Regions from separate parts of the Homo sapiens genome. Here regions 1, 2, 4, 5, 6 and 7 are each linked to region 3. Evidence: promoter capture Hi-C in 16 types of primary human blood cells and fetal thymus (Javierre and others, 2016). All regions are on one chromosome and are shown on one strand. The core of a region is centred on a gene start or on the middle of the fragment in contact, and the rest is flanking DNA. Distances in the headings are between cores, read along the strand shown.

The links. The method cuts DNA at HindIII sites, captures the fragments that hold promoters and counts their contacts. A CHiCAGO score of 5 or more calls a contact.
Region 1: a contact is called between the fragment with the promoter of PCGF1 here and the fragment with the promoter of PRADC1 in region 3, in 3 of 17 cell types (fetal thymus, total CD8 T cells and monocytes). The highest score is 8.0, in fetal thymus.
Region 2: a contact is called between a fragment that was not itself captured here and the fragment with the promoter of PRADC1 in region 3, in 2 of 17 cell types (total CD4 T cells and naive CD4 T cells). The highest score is 6.8, in total CD4 T cells.
Region 4: the fragment with the promoter of DQX1 here is called in contact with the fragment with the promoter of PRADC1 in region 3 in 5 of 17 cell types (activated CD4 T cells, fetal thymus, non-activated CD4 T cells and 2 more); the score reaches 9.5 in activated CD4 T cells.
Region 5: a contact is called between the fragment with the promoter of M1AP here and the fragment with the promoter of PRADC1 in region 3, in 3 of 17 cell types (naive B cells, non-activated CD4 T cells and neutrophils). The highest score is 7.2, in naive B cells.
Region 6: the fragment with the promoter of MOGS here is called in contact with the fragment with the promoter of PRADC1 in region 3 in 10 of 17 cell types (naive CD8 T cells, non-activated CD4 T cells, fetal thymus and 7 more); the score reaches 17.8 in naive CD8 T cells.
Region 7: a contact is called between the fragment with the promoter of CCDC142 here and the fragment with the promoter of PRADC1 in region 3, in 5 of 17 cell types (neutrophils, non-activated CD4 T cells, fetal thymus and 2 more). The highest score is 10.9, in neutrophils.

The regions. Positions count from the first base shown.
Region 1 is chr2:74,506,190-74,509,270 of GRCh38, reverse strand. It overlaps PCGF1 (polycomb group ring finger 1), which reads left to right and starts at 1,576. Exons shown (of 9, transcript NM_032673.3): 1 at 1,576-1,695; 2 at 2,124-2,229; 3 at 2,387-2,539; 4 at 3,019-3,081. The coding sequence starts at 1,603. RefSeq lists enhancers at 767-826, 1,567-1,746, 1,383-2,313. The HindIII fragment of the contact is 5,812 bases long and covers 1-3,081 here.
Region 2 is chr2:74,847,026-74,850,030 of GRCh38, reverse strand. The region is part of intron 1 of HK2 (hexokinase 2); the gene reads right to left. Among named protein-coding and RNA genes, the nearest start is that of HK2, 14 kb to the right of the region's middle. RefSeq lists an enhancer at 1-75. The HindIII fragment of the contact is 1,944 bases long and covers 354-2,297 here.
Region 3 is chr2:73,231,794-73,234,902 of GRCh38, reverse strand. PRADC1 (protease associated domain containing 1) reads left to right here and starts at 1,664. Exons shown (of 5, transcript NM_032319.3): 1 at 1,664-1,809. The coding sequence starts at 1,743. CCT7 (chaperonin containing TCP1 subunit 7) reads right to left here and starts at 595. Exons shown (of 12, transcript NM_006429.4): 1 at 519-595. The coding sequence starts at 524. RefSeq lists enhancers at 708-777, 898-947, 589-1,120 and a silencer at 1,408-1,617. The HindIII fragment of the contact is 3,259 bases long and covers 625-3,109 here.
Region 4 is chr2:74,524,725-74,527,613 of GRCh38, reverse strand. DQX1 (DEAQ-box RNA dependent ATPase 1) reads left to right here and starts at 1,383. Exons shown (of 12, transcript NM_133637.3): 1 at 1,383-1,478; 2 at 1,866-2,121; 3 at 2,412-2,605. The coding sequence starts at 1,885. AUP1 (AUP1 lipid droplet regulating VLDL assembly factor) reads left to right here. Exons shown (of 12, transcript NM_181575.5): 9 at 24-143; 10 at 251-366; 11 at 555-673; 12 at 778-962. The coding sequence ends at 814. RefSeq lists an enhancer at 1,116-1,285. The HindIII fragment of the contact is 10,114 bases long and covers 1-2,889 here.
Region 5 is chr2:74,646,964-74,649,756 of GRCh38, reverse strand. M1AP (meiosis 1 associated protein) reads left to right here and starts at 1,427. Exons shown (of 11, transcript NM_001321739.2): 1 at 1,427-1,492. The HindIII fragment of the contact is 10,572 bases long and covers 1-2,793 here.
Region 6 is chr2:74,463,949-74,466,825 of GRCh38, reverse strand. It overlaps MOGS (mannosyl-oligosaccharide glucosidase), which reads left to right and starts at 1,444. Exons shown (of 4, transcript NM_006302.3): 1 at 1,444-1,930; 2 at 2,104-2,330. The coding sequence starts at 1,579. RefSeq lists a silencer at 1,658-1,877. The HindIII fragment of the contact is 14,256 bases long and covers 1-2,877 here.
Region 7 is chr2:74,481,666-74,484,454 of GRCh38, reverse strand. It overlaps CCDC142 (coiled-coil domain containing 142), which reads left to right and starts at 1,457. Exons shown (of 9, transcript NM_001365575.2): 1 at 1,457-2,638. The coding sequence starts at 1,618. It overlaps TTC31 (tetratricopeptide repeat domain 31), which reads right to left and starts at 1,374. Exons shown (of 13, transcript NM_022492.6): 1 at 1,320-1,374; 2 at 1,045-1,133. The coding sequence starts at 1,359. RefSeq lists enhancers at 945-1,054, 1,375-1,914, 2,025-2,144, 2,215-2,314. The HindIII fragment of the contact is 7,623 bases long and covers 1-2,789 here.

The DNA of each region.
Region 1 (3,081 bases), core at 327-2,826, 1.3 Mb before region 3:
AGCTCTCAACAGGTTTTAAACGTAAAAAAGGAACAACCTAATTTTTCAACTTTATTTTTAATAGCTTTCTTGAAGTATAATGGACATATAAACTGCAAATATTTGAAGTGTACAATTTGATAAGTTTTGACATATGTATATACCCATGATACCATCATCACCATAAAAATAATAAACATATCCACATCTCAAAAATTGTCCTTTGTCCTTTGTGTTTCATGTTTTATCAGAATCACTAGCTCTGAGAAACAGCACTCAACTGTGATGTTGAGAACAGGCGAAGGGGGACTCAAGGAAAACAGTCAAGAGGCCACTACAGAGGACAGATGATAGTGGCTCGGACCAGGGAAGTAGGTAAACAGGGGCTGTAACGAATAATTGATTAATCACTAATCTCATAACTTCTTGCTGCATATTCACTTCAATTCACTCTGAAGAGAAATGAACAAAAATGTCGCTTTCACAGGATAACCTCCCTTCAAAAAAGTCCGCTAGCTCCCAATTGCCCTCAGGCTAAAAATCGCAACTCTTTATGGCCCTGCTTTTTCTATTACCACTCTCAAATCTACATCTTGACCTTCCTGTCCTCTGGTCATTCCCCTCCACGTCCTTTCTATTTCACCACACTTCCACCCCCTCCCCCAAGTCTAAATTGTGCCCAAAGTCCCACTTTCTCCAGAAAGCCTTTTTTGAGGTCTCCATTGGAATCTCTCCCTTCTCGTATCTCCAGTTGCATTTGATGTTAATACCTCATAGCAAATTTATCCCTTTTTAAGTACCCAGAGCCGGCGGTGTAGAGCTCTCGAGCGAGCACCCCGCGTAGTCCCCAAGTGCGGGACTGGGCCTATGCTACTACAGGCGCTCGCTGCCTAAGCCTGTCTGTGTGTGGCAGTGTCCTAGTCGTCCTCCCCTCCTCCTTCGGCATCTGCTCTGCATTAGTCTGTCCCAGGCCTCCGCAGGCGCCGATGATTAAATCATCATCATTAACCAGGGCCTGCCCCCCCCATCCCCGGCAGCAGGGGGGAGAATGGGGGAATAAGATCACTACCAAGTCCCTGGGGGTCTCTCACTCCCCATCCCCCGGCACCCTCTCCGAGACTCTGCAAAGCCCAAGAAACTCCCTCCGTGAAGCCGGGAGAAGACCCGCCATCTGGACGAAGCTCCGCTACGCGGACGCCGACAGGGCGGCATTACGAGGAGAGGACCCAGGAGGGGCTTCTTCAGCAGGGTCGTCGTCACAGAAGACCGACGACCCTGAGCGGGTAGCGGGCACAGACTGCCAGGCCTTTGGGGGTAGGAGGGGGCAGTCTTTCGCAGGCTCCGAAAGTTAGTCTTGAGGTCGCGTAGGGCCTATTATGATGATTTCTACAGGAGGTTGAAGAGATAAGACCCTTCCCTGTGCTCCCCCCCCCCCACTCCTTAATTACGGATTGAGCAGGGGAGGGGCCGGTGGGGCTCAGGTGAGCACACAGGGAGAAAGGGACGTGGGCGGGGCCTTACAGAGGGTGAGCGAATCCGAAAAGACCTAGAACCTCGTTGCTGGGAGACAAGTCCCGCCCTGCAGGCGGCACCGGAAGTGGCCGGCTGGGATCAGCCTTTAAGATGGCGTCTCCTCAGGGGGGCCAGATTGCGATCGCGATGAGGCTTCGGAACCAGCTCCAGTCAGTGTACAAGATGGACCCGCTACGGAACGAGGTGCAAGGGCGGCAGGGTTACTGCTGTGGTCGGCCAGCGGTGCGAATTGGGGCGGGCTAAAGGACGGGCGGTGGCTGGCCGGGCGCCCAGTGCGCCTGCGCAGAGACAGAGTGCCCAGTGCGCCTGCGTGGTTGCGATCGGGTTGCCAAACTCCGGTTAGGACGCCTGCGCGTTGTGTCGCCGACGTTGTGTAGTCTCCCCTGGGAAAGGAGGGTCAGGCGAGTCCACGTGAGGGAAGCCCCCGCTGTGCGCGGAGCCCTCTGCTGGGCGGAGGGGGAGTGCCAGCCCCCAGGAGCTAATCCCCGGCTGATGGCGCAGGGCGCGGGGCTTGGCCGTCTAGTGTGATGAAGGAGGCGACCCCCAAGGTGGGAAGGCGCACGGGTTGGGGTTTGAGGGTGGATGATTGGTGACGGAGGGTGTATCTTCAGGAGGAGGTTCGAGTGAAGATCAAAGACTTGAATGAACACATTGTTTGCTGCCTATGCGCCGGCTACTTCGTGGATGCCACCACCATCACAGAGTGTCTTCATACTTGTGAGTGCCTTGGAGACTGCCTAGTTCTTCCAGTCCCTAGTCTTCACCAAGCTGACTGCCAGCTTCTGTGCGGCCTGCCTCACGCATCCAGGCACCCCACCCAGCCCATGAATCCAGTTTCCAGAGGGCCTGAGAATCTGCTTTTCTTTTCCTGCAGTCTGCAAGAGTTGTATTGTGAAGTACCTCCAAACTAGCAAGTACTGCCCCATGTGCAACATTAAGATCCACGAGACACAGCCACTGCTCAACCTCAAACTGGACCGGGTCATGCAGGACATCGTGTATAAGCTGGTGCCTGGCTTGCAAGACAGTGAGTCACCAACCTGACTTTGAGGGGCCTCTTGAGGACTAATTGCTGAGTGGCAGCTTGAGGTGACGGGTTTGGTAGGACTCACGTAGGCAGAAGGCCAAAGATGAGGGAAGGACAAAAAGTGAGGAAGGGCTAATACTTTATTCTTTTTTTTCTTTTTTTGAGACGGAGTCTTGCCCAGGCTGGAGTGCAGTGGCGCAATCTCAGCTCACTGCAAGCTCCACCTCCTGGATTCATGCCATTCTCCTGCCTCAGCCTCCTGAGTAGCTGGGACTACAGGCGCCCACCACCATGCCCAGCTAATTTTTTATATTTTTTAGTAGAGACGGGGTTTCACCATGTTAGCCAGGATGGCCTCAATCTCCTGACTTCATGATCTGCCCACCTCTGCCTCCCAAAGTGCTGGGATTACAGGCGTGAGCCACCGCGCCCGGCCCCGAAGGGCTAATACTTTATTCTCATACTTCACCTTCTTCTAGGTGAAGAGAAACGGATTCGGGAATTCTACCAGTCCCGAGGTTTGGACCGGGTCACCCAGCCCA
Region 2 (3,005 bases), core at 76-2,575, 1.6 Mb before region 3:
GTAATCCTGTGTTGATCCAGCCTGCTGGGAGTTGGGAAGACAAACTCTGCATTTGTTTTTAAGAGATGTAAGTTTCTGGATACTATCAAAGCAGACTCATTCAGGTCAACCCTTGATTTGTAGCTGGTGGTGGTGAAAGGAGTGCTCTGGCATCAGAAACACCAGTATGCAAATCCTAGTGGTAGCGTTCGTACAGGTGTGCGACATTAGAGGACTCTTCATCTGAACCCCAGCTTCCTTGCCACAAAACAGGATGAATAGCCCCACATGACAGAGTCATTAGCATAACTGTGGGGACAAAAGAGTTCTCTATCACCCCCCCTTTCCTTCCACCCCTTCTTTCTTCTAAAGCTTCTCTCCACCCAGGGTCACCTTCAGGCAATCACAGACATTTCTCAACCCTCCTTAGTCACAAAGCAGAGGCTGTTTCCCCAAACTATTCCTTCTCTTTCTGTGATGGGCATGGACAAGGCTGCTTCTCTTTAAATCTCTATCTGGGAGAGGAGGAAAGGAGGAGGGGGCATTCCAGGCTGGGGAATCGGAGGCAGGCCAGAGCAAAGCCTGGCTGAAGAACGGGTTACCTTCCCGTCTGCCTGCCAAGCTGCCAGCCCAGGAAGCGAGGGCGTGTTAGACAGAGATAGCACTGTTAGTTGATATTTCTTCAGCAAGGGTTAGATCAGAGCTTCCTCATTGGGTAATTTTGGTCAGTTTCAGTTTTTCCCATAACATACCAGTCTGACATGCCCACTTCCTCTACAGAATTGGGGTTGGTGTCAGGGGAAGCCCTAAAGACAAATTAACCCCATACTCTCTAGGAAATAAGATAATACCCAAAATGGGAAGCCATTAACACCCATCCCCTTAAGTACCTGCATTTTCCTCCAGACCAGCACTTAAAAAAGGAGAGGAAATTGTGTCACTGTCACAAAGCAACAAATGGAGAGAACAAAAGGGGACATTCATGGAGGCTCCACTTCGAAGTATGCAGTGTGCAGGGTGGGCCATACACAGTCCTGGCCAGGTATGGGGAAGCCCAGGAAGGAAAGGCCTGGAGGTGACTGCAAGAAAGGGATCTCAGAGAAACCAGGCCCATCGGGGAGCAGCCTCGACCCAGGTCACACAGTTGAAACTAGAATCTGGATCACCTGGATGAATGTCAACCCTTCTGGCCCAGAAGCGCCCATCTCATTCTGCAGGCCCAATGCAACTGAAAGACTGGTGCCACTGCCTGGATCCTGAGCCCACCCCATCTGGTCCCTGTGGGAACCTGGCCTTGATCAAATTATTTACATCCAGAAGACAGCAATATTCCAATTTTGACAGTTTTTATATGAAGTACTACAGATCCTACCTTGAGTAAGGTACTCAAGGGTTTTAAAAGGGAAGTGTAGACGAAACGAAACCTTAAATTTCAATGTCTAAGTCTGTAAGATCCGTATCATTCAATCCCTGAATCCTGACTACTGTTGCAACCCCAGCATCTTCCATGTTATGGCATTTATGGAACAGCTATTAAATACAAAGCACTAGTGTACAGAAACATAATTTTACAAGAAATTAATTCTGGAAATGAATAGTGGTGGTAGTTGCACAGCAATGTGAATAACACACTTAATGCCACTAAATTGTACACTTAAAATGGTTAAAATGGTAAATTTTGTGATTAATATTTTATTACAATTCTTAAAAATTTTAAGAAATCAACAGCCCTGCTCTCTAGGACTTTATATCAAAGAAGCTGGCTCATATTATAGATCAATGAGTGTCTCTAGAATGCGTGGAGAGATGAGTCTTGTCTAATAAGAATGTCGGGCACAATACAAGGCAGCCCATGGGAAGTGTCACAGATTTAAGTGGCCTGAGAGACTGGCAATCAAAGGGGATACTTTTGGAGCTCAGCCACCTTAGCAGATAAATGCTTACCTAGAGACAGCAGTGTGAAAAGGCTCAGGAGGCATGGGCAAGCCCCTAAGACCCTGGGAAATTACCAATTCCAGGAACAGAAAGCTCCTCACCTTCACAACATTACATTAGCTCCCCATGAAATGCTTCATAGGTTTAGTTCTATCACTTTTAATCAAGGGCTCACAGGAAAGACTATAAAGACCACTGCACCAGGTAAAGCTGCTGTGTCTTTCACTAATGCTTCCCTAGCCATTCAGTCCCCAGTAAGGGTTAGTGTCAGGAGAAAGTCTGGCTGCCCAGACACACTGTGCTACCTGTTATAGGCCGATGGGATGAAAACGACTGACTCAAAGAGAACTAACTATCCTTTTTGCCTTGACTGTCAGGAAGCTTGGAGCTTCGTCAAGTTTGTTTAACTTTAGAGACAGAGTCTTGCTCGGCTGCCCAGGCTGGAGTGCAATGACGCAATCATGGTTCACTGCAGCCTCAAACTCCTAGGCTGCAGCCTTAAACTCCTGGGCTCATGATCCTTCCACTGCAGCCTCCCAAGTAGCTAAGACTATAGGTATGCACCCTCGTACCCAGCTGATTTTTTTAATTTTATTTTTTCTGTAGAGACAGAGTCTCACTGCGTTGTCCAGACTGGTCTCAAACTCCTGGCCTTAAGCAATCCTTCCATCTTGGCCTCCCAAAGTGCTGGGATTACAAGCATGAGCCACCACACCTGGCCTGTCAAGTTTTTCAGTAATCATCTCGCCAGTTTGATGACTCTCGTTCTAGAAATCTTTTTACTGAAAGCTGAACCAAATCACTAAATCCTTTTAGTAAGCAAGCAGAAAATACATAATACATGAATAAGCAAATGTTCATCACTTGTGTCTGCAGGGCACACCCTCCTGGTAGAGGGCTGAATTCAAGTGATCACATAGGATAAGAAAGTTACTCCACAAGCATAGAAGCATCAAAGCAAAGGATGCAGGATGCCTGTGGCACAGCTGAACTTTGTCTCCCCAGTCTTGGGATATTTCTAATTGATTATCTAGAACCGTCTCTCCAGGTGCCCTAGATGACCACAGCTAAAAATCCTACCTTTTAGTTTC
Region 3 (3,109 bases), core at 415-2,914:
CGTCTGCTTCTCTGCACGCTGCGGTGAGGGTCAGCGAGTGAACATAGTGAGTCCCTAGGCGGGCACAATATGAGGTCCCCAATGTGCCTGTGCCGGTTCCAAGAAGCACACGTCTTTACAGCCCGCAAATCTCAGAGCAGCCCCAGCTTCCAAGTCTAGCTGCCGACCGCGTAACCACGGCCGACCTGCACTCGTTTCACGCAAGTCCCGATCATGCGGGGCTAAAAAAGAGGTCCCCGACGTGGGTTCGCGGGCCCGAAGCACCCTGGGACTTGTAGTCCCCAACCGGCCAGCCCAGAGACTCCTCTAAAGCCCCACGCAGCCCTCGCCAACGGCTCCAGCGCCGTGCTCGGGCCGAGCCAGGCCGCGGCTGGCTGGGGTCGCCCCTAAGCTGGGGATCTGGGCGAGGACAGAGGCGGCAAGCAAAAGAGGGTCCTACAGAGCAAGCCCAGGCCGAGCGGCGCCGGCCACCGGCCAGATGGCAGCTGATGGCGACGGATGCGCGAGACGCCACTCACCATCATTTTGGAAGCTTATTCAGCGGCCCGCCACTCTCCCCTCTTCTCCGAGACCGGGCCGCCCAGCAACCCACAATGCCTCGCGCAATAGAAATACCCAGAAGCTTGGGCCGGGAGAGGAAGAGAACGGACCACTTCCGCTACTCTATGGTTCGTTACCACCGACTCGGTGCGGCTAGAAGGACCTGAGGCTGGGCTTCGGGGACTCTCTAGTGAGGGGCGTTCATTAAAGAGGGGTCGCCGCATTTCGGTCGTGCTTCTTAGAGCACGGAGGGTCTTTGCTCGGCCCGCATCACCTACTAACTTAATTCCACCCTCCTCCATCCCCGGACGCCAGACCAAGGAATGCAATAAAGGCAAAAGTGTGGGACGCAAAGTGTGGGATAGGCTGGTGCCAAAGCACTTTACGTGAGCGATCTCATTTAATCCTCACAACCCTATTGCGTTGGTCCTATTAAGGCCATTTTACTGATGACAGAAAGGAGGCTGAGAGGTCAAGGTGTCCAGTGTCACAGTTACATAGTCAGTGTCAACGGGACGAGCGTGGGAAGCTGCCCCCAATGCCCGTTTTCTGGCTTTGCACTGGCCAGAGGCTCCTCGTGGATGGCGTGCGCCAGGCCGCGGCCCCAGCGCCTATCCACGGTGAGCGCGCAAGCGTTGGTGGCACTGGGCGGAAGACCCCCTGGCGCAAGACGAGTGCCTTCCCGTGAAGGCGTGGGGAGGAGGGAAGCGCAGCTGGGAGGAGGGAAGCGCAGCTGGGAGAAGGCTAATCGTCGTCAATCGAGGCGGCCTTGGAGTGGACAGGACCGAGACCGCAAGGGTTAACGGCCTCGACTATCGACAGCTGAAGCAAGTCCGGCTACGGGCACACCTCCAGTGCTTGTCCTCCCTGGCCCGCCCACCGCCAGCGAGGACCCGGAGAGTATGCTGGGGCGGGGCTGAGGCGAAGGCCGGTTGTAGCTGTTAAGAGTTTAAGCCAATCAGCCCCCGGCTCCACTTCTCTCGACCAATAGGAAGTAGGCTAAGGCGCAGAGGCGGAAAGTGTGGCTACATGAGCAGGCGTCAGAGCCAATCAGCCTTGAGCCTCGTTCCCGTCGTCCAGCCCGCGGCGAGAGCGGGTATGTGGGCGGGAGGCCGGAGCAGCTGTCAGGCTGAAGTCCTGCGAGCGACGCGCGGCGGGGCGGCGAGAGGAAACGCGGCGCCGGGCCGGGCCCGGCCCTGGAGATGGTCCCCGGCGCCGCGGGCTGGTGTTGTCTCGTGCTCTGGCTCCCCGCGTGCGTCGCGGCCCACGGTGAGCGGCAACGGGTGGGACTGCGTTGCAGGGCGGGGCTGGCCGTCCAGCTTGCGCGCGTCTCGGGTTGGGGGCCAAGGGTCACCTTGGGGACCCTGCGAGTTCAGAGCAGGACAGGTCTGGGAGCGGGCGGCCGGAATAAGTGGGTGGTGGTCCAAGGACATAAAGTGGGCGCAGCCTGAGGCTGAAGCTCTGACTCCTCACCTTCCCACGACAAAGCAGATCTCCCCACTCGCCCCTCCCCGCCCACTAGCGCCGACCCAGGTGACTTAGGGTGCGACCAGAAGGGACAGCTAAGGAAGGATACTACAGGCTGGAGATATGTATGTGAGCATTCACATGTACACAGGAGCACACATTCCTACACGTGGGCACACACGCACAAACCGTTTACACCTACACAAGCACATAAATGTATACATCTATGCACATAAGTGAGCACATACGTATACCCACAACTTACACAAATAAGCACACACAAAGGCAAGCAAGGGTTGGGGAGGAGGGAGTGAGTTTGACGCTAGTCCAGGAAGGCTTTCTGGGGGTGTATTTGTATCCGAGAGGGAGTCCCCACTCCCAGGACTGTATAGCCCAGTGCCAAGCCATGGGAGCTCTAACTGATGGCTGTGATTTGGGCAGTAAACAAAGACAGCTAAAGCCTTAATGCCATCCTTGGTACACAGTAGTGACTTGGTAGTTTGTTGATAGACTAACAGACTTGTGACAGCAGTTTTCTTTTTTTCTTTTTTTTTTTTTTGAGACGGAGTCTTGCTCTGTCGCCCAGGTTGCAGTGCAGTGGCCCGATCTCGGCTCACTGCAAGCTCCGCCTCCCGGGTTCACGCCATTCTCCTGCCTCAGCCTCCCAAGTAGCTGGGACTACAGGCGCCCACCACCACGCCCGGCTAATTTTTTTGTATTTTTAGTAGAGACGGGGGTTTCACCGTGTTAGCCAGGATGGTCTCGATCTCCTGACCTCGTGATCTGCCCGCCTCGGCCTCCCAAAGTGCTGGGATTACAGGCGTGAGCCACCGCGCCCGCCCATGACAGCAGTTTTTATCTTTCAACATTCCGCAGTCTCTCTGGGTTAAGGAAACCAGGGACTCAAGTCCAGGTACAACATTAAACTTTGGTGCTGAGGAGAAGATCCCATGCCCCAGAAAAATCTAGTGGTCTGGAAATTCTCTTCATCGGTGCTGTGGAGCTAGATATAGTTGTTCACCCATTCAGGAAAGTTTATAGGGCTATCCCTATATTGTAGCCACTGTGCAAGACACTGGTGACTCTTCACTGAATGAAGTTA
Region 4 (2,889 bases), core at 134-2,633, 1.3 Mb before region 3:
TTCTTTTTTTCCTTTTTCCACAGCCCAGTCTTCTTTCCCTCCCTCCCCTGGTCCTTCTCCTGATGTGCAACTGGCAACTCTGGCTCAGAGAGTCAAGGAAGTTTTGCCCCATGTGCCATTGGGTGTCATCCAGAGAGACCTGGGTATGGGAAAGGGTGGCCCCACACTGGGAGATGGGCACAGGGAGGAAAAGTGGGTTGTGAAGGAAGAAAGTAAGTAGGGAGTGGACTCCCTTCTCTTTTCTCCCCAGCCAAGACTGGCTGTGTAGACTTGACTATCACTAATCTGCTTGAGGGGGCCGTAGCTTTCATGCCTGAAGACATCACCAAGGGAACTCAGTCCCTACCCACAGCCTCTGCCTCCAAGGTGAGACCCAGGAAATGGTCAGATCCAAGTGTTGGGGTGAGTTGGGGGCAGGCTATGTACTCCCTTATCCCTGACCTTTCTTTTTTGATCCTGAGACCCTAGCATAGTGCCTCTCTTGCAAAGTAGGCATTCGATGCGTGTTTAATGATGATGACTCCGCAAGCCCTCTGACATTGTGATCACCTCAGTTTCCCAGCTCTGGCCCGGTGACCCCTCAGCCAACAGCCCTAACATTTGCCAAGTCTTCCTGGGCCCGGCAGGAGAGCCTGCAGGAGCGCAAGCAAGCACTATATGAATACGCAAGAAGGTGAGGGGGTTAGAGGACAATTAATAGGATGTGGCAAATTGGAGAATGGAATTATGGAGCTACTACGGCAAAGCCTGAATAATATCTCTCCCTATGTCCCACAGGAGATTCACAGAGAGACGAGCCCAGGAGGCTGACTGAGCTCAAAGGAACAGGATGGCACCCAGAGCCGCAGGACGGAGACTGGGGGCAGCCCTCACCCAACTCACAACAGGCTGGATGGGTGGGTGGTAAAAAGGGAAGGATGAGGCTCCCCCAATGTCACATTAAATTCATGGTTTTCATTCAAGGCATCTGTTGTCTCTCTCGGTCTCAAAAGCCCTGTGAGTGGGTTCCTTATTCCTTGGCTGCGGGGGATGGGGGTGAGAGTCTTCTCGTACATTTGAAGGGGGTAGTCAGACTGCAACTGTCTAAAATCACCTCCTCATGCCAAGTGATGAGTGATAAATTAAGGAAGTGTAACTGAACTGAAGACCCAGCTTGGGTGATCAGCCCAGGTTTTGGAGGAAGCTGCTGCAAAACTACAAGTCCCAGCATGCCTTTCACAAGCACACTACACATCATCTATAGAGTTCACACATGCTCAGTGTGGTAGCTGGAGCCTGTTTTCCATAGGTTCCTGACTAGGTTAAATAAGGTGGAGCAAATAGCCCCACCCCAAAAGCAGGCTTCAGGATTTGAAGTTTGAGCCCATCCCTGAGGTAGAGCCGGAATTTACCTTTGTACTTCACACGGTCAGGGTTGGTGGTGACTACGTGGGTCTGGAGCTGACTGCCGTCCTGACACGTCCTAGAGCTGCAAGCAGGTTTGAATCCAGGATCCCTGTGACTCTGCTGTTCCTCTCCCCACCCCCTATATTCTTTATCCTTTTCCCTTCAGGACTTTCCCACAGGTTACTAGGTCTCACATAATTTCTACTGCCCTTGAGGACCCCTGCCTAAGTAAGATTTCTACTACCTGCCAACGGGGTAATAGTCTCAGGTAGATTTCTACTACCTGACTATAGGGACTGTCGACTAACTCTCAGTAGCCCTTTATCAAAATACCTAGCACTGTTTCCTGGCAGGAAATGCTGGGAAGGGTGGGCCCCAGAGCATGATCAACTGAAGGTAGAGGTTAAGGATCAGGGCTGAGGTGGGAAGATGGTGTCGGTCACCAAATATGACCTTACTGGCTGCTCTGCCTTCTGCAGGTCCTGCCAGAGAGCCACCATGACCTCTCAGCCTCTCAGGCTAGCAGAAGAGTATGGCCCAAGTCCTGGGGAGTCTGAACTGGCTGTGAACCCCTTTGATGGGCTTCCCTTCTCTTCCCGCTACTATGAGCTGCTGAAGCAGCGCCAAGCCTTGCCCATCTGGGCTGCTCGCTTTACCTTCTTGGAGCAGTTGGAGAGTAACCCCACTGGAGTGGTGCTGGTGTCTGGGGAGCCTGGTTCTGGCAAGAGCACCCAGGTGTGGTGGGGGTTGTGGGGGCAGGCAGATTCTGGGAGTGGACAAAGGGAGGACAAAGGGAGGACAAAGGGAAAGTGGCCTTTCCCTGGGCAAGGGGGGACTGGGCTGCGTGGGGTCATGAGGAAGGTGAACGAAGAGAGATGGGATGGGTTAGGTTGGCCCTGGAGGCTGGTGAAAGACCAGGGGACTCCCCAAATAAGGAAAGATTAAAGTGGCCATAGTTCCCTGAGCACTTCTGACTGAAGTCCTACATCTTCCTCACTGGCTCTCCTTCCCTACTTCTATCCCAGATCCCTCAGTGGTGTGCAGAGTTTGCGCTGGCCAGAGGGTTCCAGAAAGGACAGGTTACTGTTACTCAGCCCTACCCTCTTGCAGCCCGGAGCCTGGCTCTGCGGGTTGCTGATGAGATGGACCTGACCCTGGGTCATGAGGTTGGATACAGCATCCCCCAGGAGGACTGCACGGGGCCCAACACCCTGCTCAGGTGGGGGCCTCTGCAGGCCTTACCCGAATATAATTCCCCTTATTCAGTAGAAACAAACCCATTCCTCTGGCATCTCACCATACCCTCCCTTAGCCCAACTCACTCTTTTTTATTTTATTTATTTTGGAGAAAGGGTCTCACTCTGTCACCCAGGCTGGAGTGCAGTGGTGCAATCACAACTCACTGCAGCCTCAACCTCCCGGGCTCAAGTGATCCTCCCACCTCAGCCTCCCAAGTAACTGGGAATACAGGCGCGCACCTCCACGCCTGGCTAATTTTTATAT
Region 5 (2,793 bases), core at 178-2,677, 1.4 Mb before region 3:
ATTATCTTGGAAATGAGTTAGTTATTGAGAGAGTGGGTTTGTTGTAAAAGTGAGTTCAGCTCCCTATTGCTGTCTTGCTCTTTTGTACCCCTTGCCCTTCTGCCTTCTGCCATGGGATGACACAGAAAAAATGCCCTCACTAGATGTGGGATTCTCAACCTTGGAATTCCTACCCTCCAGAATTTAAGAATACATTTCCTTTATTTACAAGTTAGTTGTTCTGTGGTATTCTGGTATAGCAACACAAAGGGGAGTAAGACAGGTAATGCTGGGGTTGAGCCTAGTAAGGTAGGTGGGGTCAGTTATAATGGACCCTCTAACCGAAAAGGAAACATAAGCCATTTTTAAGACAAAGAATGATATGATCAAAATATTTTTACAAGGACAATTCTAACATCAGTGGAAACGATAATCTGGAGATTAGAGACAGAAAGGCTAATTTGGACTATATGGGGGGAAAGAGCTGTTGAGAAGCTACCCTTTAAACTGAAACACAGGAACTCTATTGAATATCAGATTATAGTGTTTAAAAAAGGACATAGGTTAAATAGTTCTGTTCTTACCTGAGGAACAGTTGATAGGAGCAAAATGGTTTAGTGGGACTAGAATACAAGCAGGCAACTCTTTTCCTGTTGAAACATCTAACCTATCCTGTGCCACTCATTGAAATATTGCCCCACCCCACCTCCAACCTGCATCTAGACAATGAACTGAGAAAATAACAATAATAATAATAAAGAAAACAAGGAAAACTGCTTGTACATTTCTAGCTTGGAACTAGCATTATCTTTCCCTCTCCTGTGGACTAATTCAGAGAATTCCTTTTTAACCAGAGTTGAAGACCCAGACCAACCAACTGTTAAGGACCAGGACGCTCCTACCCCATCTGGAGTTCGTCAAAGGGACTATGGGAATCAACCTCAAGTAAGCGAGAATGAGTATGAAGAGAGCGACAGACCCTCTTGGAATACAGGAGTTTGAAAAGACTTAAAAGAACTTTGTGAAGGCAGCTATAACTTCCATGAGGGCAGTGACCATTGTCTGTACATCCACTGTACTCCAATCCTAGCACAATGCGTGGCACATAACGTGCCCACCACAGATGTTTAGTGAACAAAATAGCGACTGGCTGAAGGAAATGATGTGGAAGGGAAAAGTTAAAACCAAGAAAACGGTCGGTGGGGGAGCTACTGGCATGTTTCATGGGAAGGGGTAGAAAAAGAAAAATGTCAGGTTTAGCACAGCATTTCCAACAAATAGACAAAATTCTACCTAAGGGACAAAGAAGGACTGTTCTCAGGGTATCTAGGGACTTGGAGACCGTTTTCCTGAAGCGCCACCTGAAGCGCACCCTGAGGCAGCCAGGCCCCGCCTTGCCCGCAGTGAGCCTCCCGCCCAGCCGCGCCGGCCTGAGGGGGGCGCCTCCGAACGCGCGGGCGCACGCTGAGAGCCGGGAGGACCAGGTGAGGGGGCCTCCGTCTTCCGAAGACAGGTACGGTTCTCCACGCCTCGGGGAGGGAGGGCAGCCCGAGAGCAGCCGGCACCACTTCGCAGGCTGGGCTGGGCGTGGGCCGAGCTCGGGCCAGTCCTCAGGCAGGTGTTGGTTGCGCTGGCCGTGGCGGGTGCCGGCGCAAGACTGACGCCGAGAGAGGCTCCGAAATCGCTGTCGGAGTCATCCCTCCGCATACTGTTCTGGGCGGCCAGGCCTGCGCGGAGTCTGGGCCCGGAGCTTCCTCCGCGGGGCCCCCAGGCCCGAGGGCCGGGCTGCTGATCCGCCAGGCACGGTAGGCGCCATGCCGAGGGACCACGGAGGCTTCAGGGAGCCACGAGAATTTTTTTTCTTCTGGTTTTGCTTTGTTTTTGAGACGGAGTTTCACCCTTGTTGCCCAAGCTGGAGTGCAATGGCGTGATCTCGGCTCACTGCAACCTCCGCCTCCCGGGTTCAAGTGATTCTCCGCCTCAGCTTCTCGAGTAAGCTGGAATTACAGGCTCCCGCCACCACGCCTGGCTAATTTTTTTATATTTTTAGTAGAGACATGGTTTCCCTATGTTGGCCAGGCTGCTCTCGAACTCCTGACCTCGTGATCCGCCCGCCTCGGCCTCCTAAAGTGCTGCGATTACAGGCGTGAGCCACCGTGCCCGGCCACGAGAATGTTTTCATTTCGTTTAAAGTGAACCCATGAAGTCAAAGAAAGTGTTTTGATTTTTTTCTCACATCAGGAGGGGGAAATGAGATTTTTAGGGCCTACAAAATCCATTAACTTCTTTTAATCTTTTTTTAATGGAGGAAGGGGTCCACGAAGACGAAAGTGCCTTAGGGCCCACGAAATCTTTAATAGGGCCCTGCCAGAGGGAGAACCATTGAATCGTTTATCACGCGACAAAGTGAATGAGGGCTTGTAAAGGGGCCCTAACCTAGAATGCTCAGCACGGAACAGAACATCCGCAGAGGCAGACACAGCGAGAAGCCGATCTGTGAGAGGTGGATCTCCCGGGGTGCGGGCAGGGGAGGGCCTAGTGTGAGGATGGAGAGTTGGGCAGAAGGCACAAGCAGAACTTTAGGGCCAGGGTAAAGATATTGGATTCTGTTTCCAGTGGTGTAATTGGAAGTCCTTGGAGGGTTTTTAGTTTGGGCATAACTTGGTGGTTTGGAGTGGTTCAAGGCCCAGTTCCAGTTTTAACCAGTTTGCAGGGAGAATTCATTAAGCGAGTGTTCTTGGCAAAAGTGGAGAGTATAGGGTCAGAATAAGGTCAGAGCCTGTTTAGTACTATGCCCAGACACATCAGATGCAT
Region 6 (2,877 bases), core at 195-2,694, 1.2 Mb before region 3:
TAATTAACTGGCTGTTATTTTGGGTCAGTCTTAACTACTCTCCTCATCTGTAAAAATGGGGGTGGTCTGGCCAGGCGCGGTGGCTCACGCCTGTAATCCCAGCACTTTGGGAGGCCGAGGTGGGTGGATCACCTGAGGTCAGGAGTTCGAGACCAGCCTGGCAAACCTGGTGAAACTCCATCTCTACTAAAAATACAAAAATTAGCTGGGCGTGGTGGTGGGCACCTGTAATCCCAGCTACTCGTGAGGCTGAGGCAGGAGAATCACTTGAACCCTGGAGGCAGAGGTTGCAGTGAGCCGAGATCATGCCATTGCACTCCAGCCTGGTGACAGAGCGAGACTCCGTCTCAAAAAAAAAAAAAAAAAAAAAATGGGTATGGTTCAACATGCATTGAGTGCTGGCATTGTGCTTCTAGACTGTGAACTTGAGGTTGGGGCCATTTTCTCTGAGTCCCCAGCACCTTGCATAATGCGATATAGGGTGTACAATAAACATGTGTTGAATTTATAAATATTTAGCATCTGCCTTATGCCTATAATTGATTAGTACTGTGATACAAAGATGAAAAATGAAACAGGTATGTAATAAGTGCTACAATAAGGATGTCGACAAATGCAACGGTAGCAAGAAAGACAAAAACAGGACTAACCATTGGGTTTGGTCAGATGATTTCATAAGCAAAAAGTCTACCACTAGTGGAGAGTGGGGCCACCAGTCAGATTATAGTGAAATATAAGTGGTCGTGTTGCATAAAGCATCAGTCTCTCTCTCTCTCTCTCTCTCTCCCTCCGTCCCTCCCTCCCTCCCTCCATCTCTCTCTCTCTCTCTCTTTCTTTTTTTTTGAAACAGTTTCACTCTTGTTGCCCAAGCTGGAGTGCAATGGCGCAATATCGGCTCACTGCAACCTCCGCCTCCCAGGTTCAAGCAATTCTCCTGCCTCAGCCTCCCGAATAGCTGGGATTACAGGCACCCACCACCACACCCGGCTAATTTTTGTATTTTTAGTAGAGATGGGGTTTCACCAAGTTGACCAGGCTGGTCTCCAACTCCTCATGTCTGGTGATCCACCTGCCTCGGCCTCCCAAAGTGCTGGGATTACAGATGTGCGCCTCGGTGCCTGGCCACATCAGTCTTTTTTTTTTTTTTTTGAGACGAAGTCTCGCTCTGTCGCCCAGGCTGGAGTGCAGTGGCACAATCTCGGCTCACTGCAACCTCCGCCTCCCGGGTTCAAACGATTCTCATGCCTCAGCCCAACGTTAGATTGGTTTTTCCGAGCCTGTGAACTCCATGGGGTCGCCAGATAAACGCAATCCCGGTGGACCAACGCCCAGGACAGACGCTACGTACCAACCCTGTGTCAAGCCGCAGGCAGCGGTTCCGGACTCTGGGACTTAACCTAACGTGGCGGGGCGGGACTTCCGGCGGGAGGCGGAGGCGGAGGCGCAGGCGCTGGCTGGCAGGTGTCGCTAACCGGACGGTGGTCGCCAGGGCGAGAGGCGGGAGCCGGAGAGGTGAGGCAGGACCCGGGCTCCACTGCCGCCTCTCCGAGCTCTTGTGACGCGGACCTCAGTGCCAGGATGGCTCGGGGCGAGCGGCGGCGCCGCGCAGTGCCGGCAGAGGGAGTGCGGACAGCCGAGAGGGCGGCTCGGGGAGGCCCCGGGCGACGGGACGGCCGGGGCGGCGGGCCGCGTAGCACGGCTGGAGGAGTGGCTCTGGCCGTCGTGGTCCTGTCTTTGGCCCTGGGTATGTCGGGGCGCTGGGTGCTGGCGTGGTACCGTGCGCGGCGGGCGGTCACGCTGCACTCCGCGCCTCCTGTGTTGCCTGCCGACTCCTCCAGCCCCGCCGTGGCCCCGGACCTCTTCTGGGGAACCTACCGCCCTCACGTCTACTTCGGCATGAAGACCCGCAGCCCGAAGCCCCTCCTCACCGGTAACCGGGCCCCAGGGCGGGCAGGCAGGCGGACTCCTAATCTGGGCGCCCCAGCTTGAAGCGAGAGCAAGGGTGGGAAGGAATGGATCAGGAGAGTTATGAAGAGGGATGACCCGGAGACCCGGAGGGACAGGTCCCCTGCTCTTTGACTTACGTGGCCATTCTACCCCCAGGACTGATGTGGGCGCAGCAGGGCACCACCCCGGGGACTCCTAAGCTCAGGCACACGTGTGAGCAGGGGGACGGTGTGGGTCCCTATGGCTGGGAGTTCCACGACGGCCTCTCCTTCGGGCGCCAACACATCCAGGATGGGGCCTTAAGGCTCACCACTGAGTTCGTCAAGAGGCCTGGGGGTCAGCACGGAGGGGACTGGAGCTGGAGAGTGACTGTAGAGCCTCAGGTCAGGGCCTCAGGACACCCTTTTCTCAGCCCAGACCCCCTCCATCCTTCCCTTGCTGCCAGCAAATGCAGCATGAAGTGGGCTCTGGCTGCCTGGCTTAAATCCTGCCTTAAACAACTGCCTGTATAACCATTTCTATTTACCATCTCTAAGCCTTGATTTCCTTGCTTGTAAAATGTACAATGTAGATAATAATAGCACTTAACTCACAGGACTGTAAGAATTAAATGAAAAAGAGGCTGGGCGCGGTGGCTCACGCCTGTAATCCCAGTACTTTGGGAGGCCGAGGCTGGCGGATCACCTGAGGTCAGGAGTTCCAGACCAGCCTGACCAAAATGGAGAAACACCGTCTCTACTGAAAATATAAAATTAGCCGGGCGTGGTGGCGCATGCCTGTGATCCAAGCTACTTGGGAGGCTGAGGCAGGAGAATTGCTTGAACCAGGGAGGTGGAGGTTGCGCTGAGCCGAGATCGTGCCATTGCACTCCAGCCTGGGCAACAAGAGCAAAACTCCATCTCAAGAAAAAAAAAAAAGCCAGGCGCGGTG
Region 7 (2,789 bases), core at 208-2,707, 1.2 Mb before region 3:
AACTCTGTTGCCTACTTGAGAACATCCAAACCCCTGTGCTAAGTCAAAGCCTTTCAAGCCATCTGCTGCCTTCTCTCCCACCCCATCTTTTACTGTTCCAACCAGATTCTCTACTCTGGTCTCACTTTGGTAAAGTTCTCTCAACTTTTCCTTGTTTTACTGTCTTTGCTCACACTGTCCCCTCCATCTATAAAAAGATATTTTTTCATTTTTTTTTTGAAATGGAGTCTCCCTCTGTTGCCCAGGCTGGAGTGCAGTGGTGTGATCTTGGCTCACTGCAACCTCTGCCTCCCGGGTTCAAGCGATTCTCCTGCCTCAGTAACCCCAGTGACTGGGATTACAGGCGCACACCACCACGCCCAGCTAGTTTTTCGTATTTTTGGTAGAGATGGCGTTTCACCATGTTGGCCAGGCTGGTCTCGAACTCCCGACCTCAAGTGATCCGCCCCCCTAGGCCTCCCAAAGTGCTGAGATTACAGGTGTGAGCCACTGGGCCCAGCTTTTTTTTTTTTTTAGACAGAGTCTCACCGTTCCCCAGGCTGGAGTGCAGTGGCACGATCATGGTTCACTGAAACCTTGACCTCCCGCGCTCAAGAGATCCCCCACCCACCACGCGGGCTAAATTTTTTAAAAACATTTTTGTAGAGATGGGGTCTCACTATGTTGCCCAGGCTGGTCTCTAACTCCTGGGCTCAAGCAATCCTCCCGTCTCAGCCTCCCAAAGTGTTGAGATTACAGGCACAAGCCACCGCGCCCGGCCTCCATCTTTTCCCAAGGAACTCGTACCCACTCCCTAATCCTCAACTCAGAGACCCTTGTCTGCTCAATTCTACCCACTTCGAGCATCTGTTACATCAGGATCATCCTCCTGATCCCCTGCCCCTCACTTGCCTAAGATCCTCAAGGGCATGGCCGGAGACTACAACTCCCCAAAGCCTCCAGAGCCCCGTCTGGCGCCCATCCGTCGCGGGTTTCTGCACAGCTGACTTCAAAGAGGCGTGACCAAAATGAGCAGGACTGGGGGAAACTGAGGGTCGCTTTTACCTCTTCGCCGTAATCCTCTGGACCGAATTCCTTGCAAAGTTTGGGTGCAGCAGCGACCTCCAGTGGGCAGCTGGGCCGTAGAGAGCAGTCTACAGGAAAGGAAGGCGGAGCCTCGTCAGCGGGCTCGGGACAGATGGGCTAGAGTCCTCCCCACTCTACCCTCGACTCTCCGCCCTCTGCATAAAATCCTACTCGAAACGTTCAGACCACAGGTGGACCCAAGAGGGGCTGCCTCTGCCCTCCTAGACCCCCACTGGTCTTGTCATACCGCTCACCTAGCTTGATCCGCCCCACAGTCTTTGGAATCGGCGCCATCGCATCTACAGTGACCCGGAAATGAAAGGTAGTCTAGTATTTGATACCAGCCAAAGGGCGGGGTGGGACAGAGTGGGCGGCCATGTTTGTTAGGGGCAGAAGCCTCCCATTACGGAGCACGAGAGAGTCCATGAAGGTCCCCGCGACTCCCGGACTGGAGAAAACGGCTCTTGCGATGGGGCGAAGTCCGAGCTGCGGCGGGCGTTGGTCCGTGCAGGGAAGTGGGAATCGTTAGGTTCGTTCTGGACCCGCCGCCCCATGGCCCAGGCGTCTCGCTCAGGTAGCCTGCCTCCACTCGTTATCGTGCCCCCGCTGAGGGCGCAACCCGGGGGCACTGGGGAGGAGCAGTGGGAGAGAAGTCGAACGGGCGGTCTTCGCTGGGAGGTTCACTGCTGGCCGAGCGGAACTTCTGGAGGGACGCCGTGGTGGCCGACGCCGGCGGATGTGAGCGAGGACTACGAGGCTGATGCTGCGGCCTGGAGGCGGGGGCCCGCAGGTGGCGGCCCGATCCCTCCCGCGCTGCAGCGTCTCCGGGCGGTGTTGCTGCGGCTGCATCGCGAGCGGGAGCAGCTCCTCCAGGCCCGAGACTGCGCCTACCACCTACAGTCGGCTGTGCGACTCATGAAGACCCTGAGTCCTGGCTCGCCATCCGGCGGCCCTAGCCCCTTGCCCCAGTGGTGCCGCGACCTGCAGCTGCACCCTTCCCAAGGGGCGGTTCTGCGAATCGGCCCTGGGGAGACTCTCGAGCCGCTGCTGCTAGCGCGCCCCATCGGACTAGCCGCCCAGTGCCTGGAGGCTGTCATCGAGATGCAGCTTCGCGCTCTCGGCCGGGAGCCCGCCAGCCCGGGCCTGTCGTCCCAACTCGCCGAGCTGCTCTTTGCACTTCCCGCCTACCACACACTACAGAGAAAAGCCTTGAGCCACGTCCCAGGGGCCGCACGTCCTTTCCCCACGTCCCGTGTGCTCCGCCTCTTGACGGGGGAGCGGGGTTGCCAGGTGGCAAGTCGGCTGGACGAGGCGCTCCAAGGATCGGCGTTGAGGGACCAGCTCCGCAGGCGGTGCCAAGAGGAGGGGGATCTGCTACCAGGGCTGCTGGGCCTGGTCGGGGGCGTGGCGGGTTCAGCCAGCTGTGGACTAGGGCTCGGAGGGGCTGGGGCCTTGTGGAGCCAATACTGGACCCTGCTGTGGGCAGCCTGTGCTCAGAGTCTGGACCTAAATCTGGGACCCTGGAGGGACCCCAGGGCAACAGCGCAACAGCTGAGTCAGGCACTGGGTCAGGGTGAGTGATGGGCTTGGGTGGGCGTTTGGGAAGGCTGGGGTCTCTTCCTTCCCCTTGGCCAACTCACTGACCTGCCATCCTGAAGGCAAAAGCAGGCCCTTTAGAAAGAACACCCCTGGGTTCAGACTATAGCTTCTGAGCTTTCAAGGCA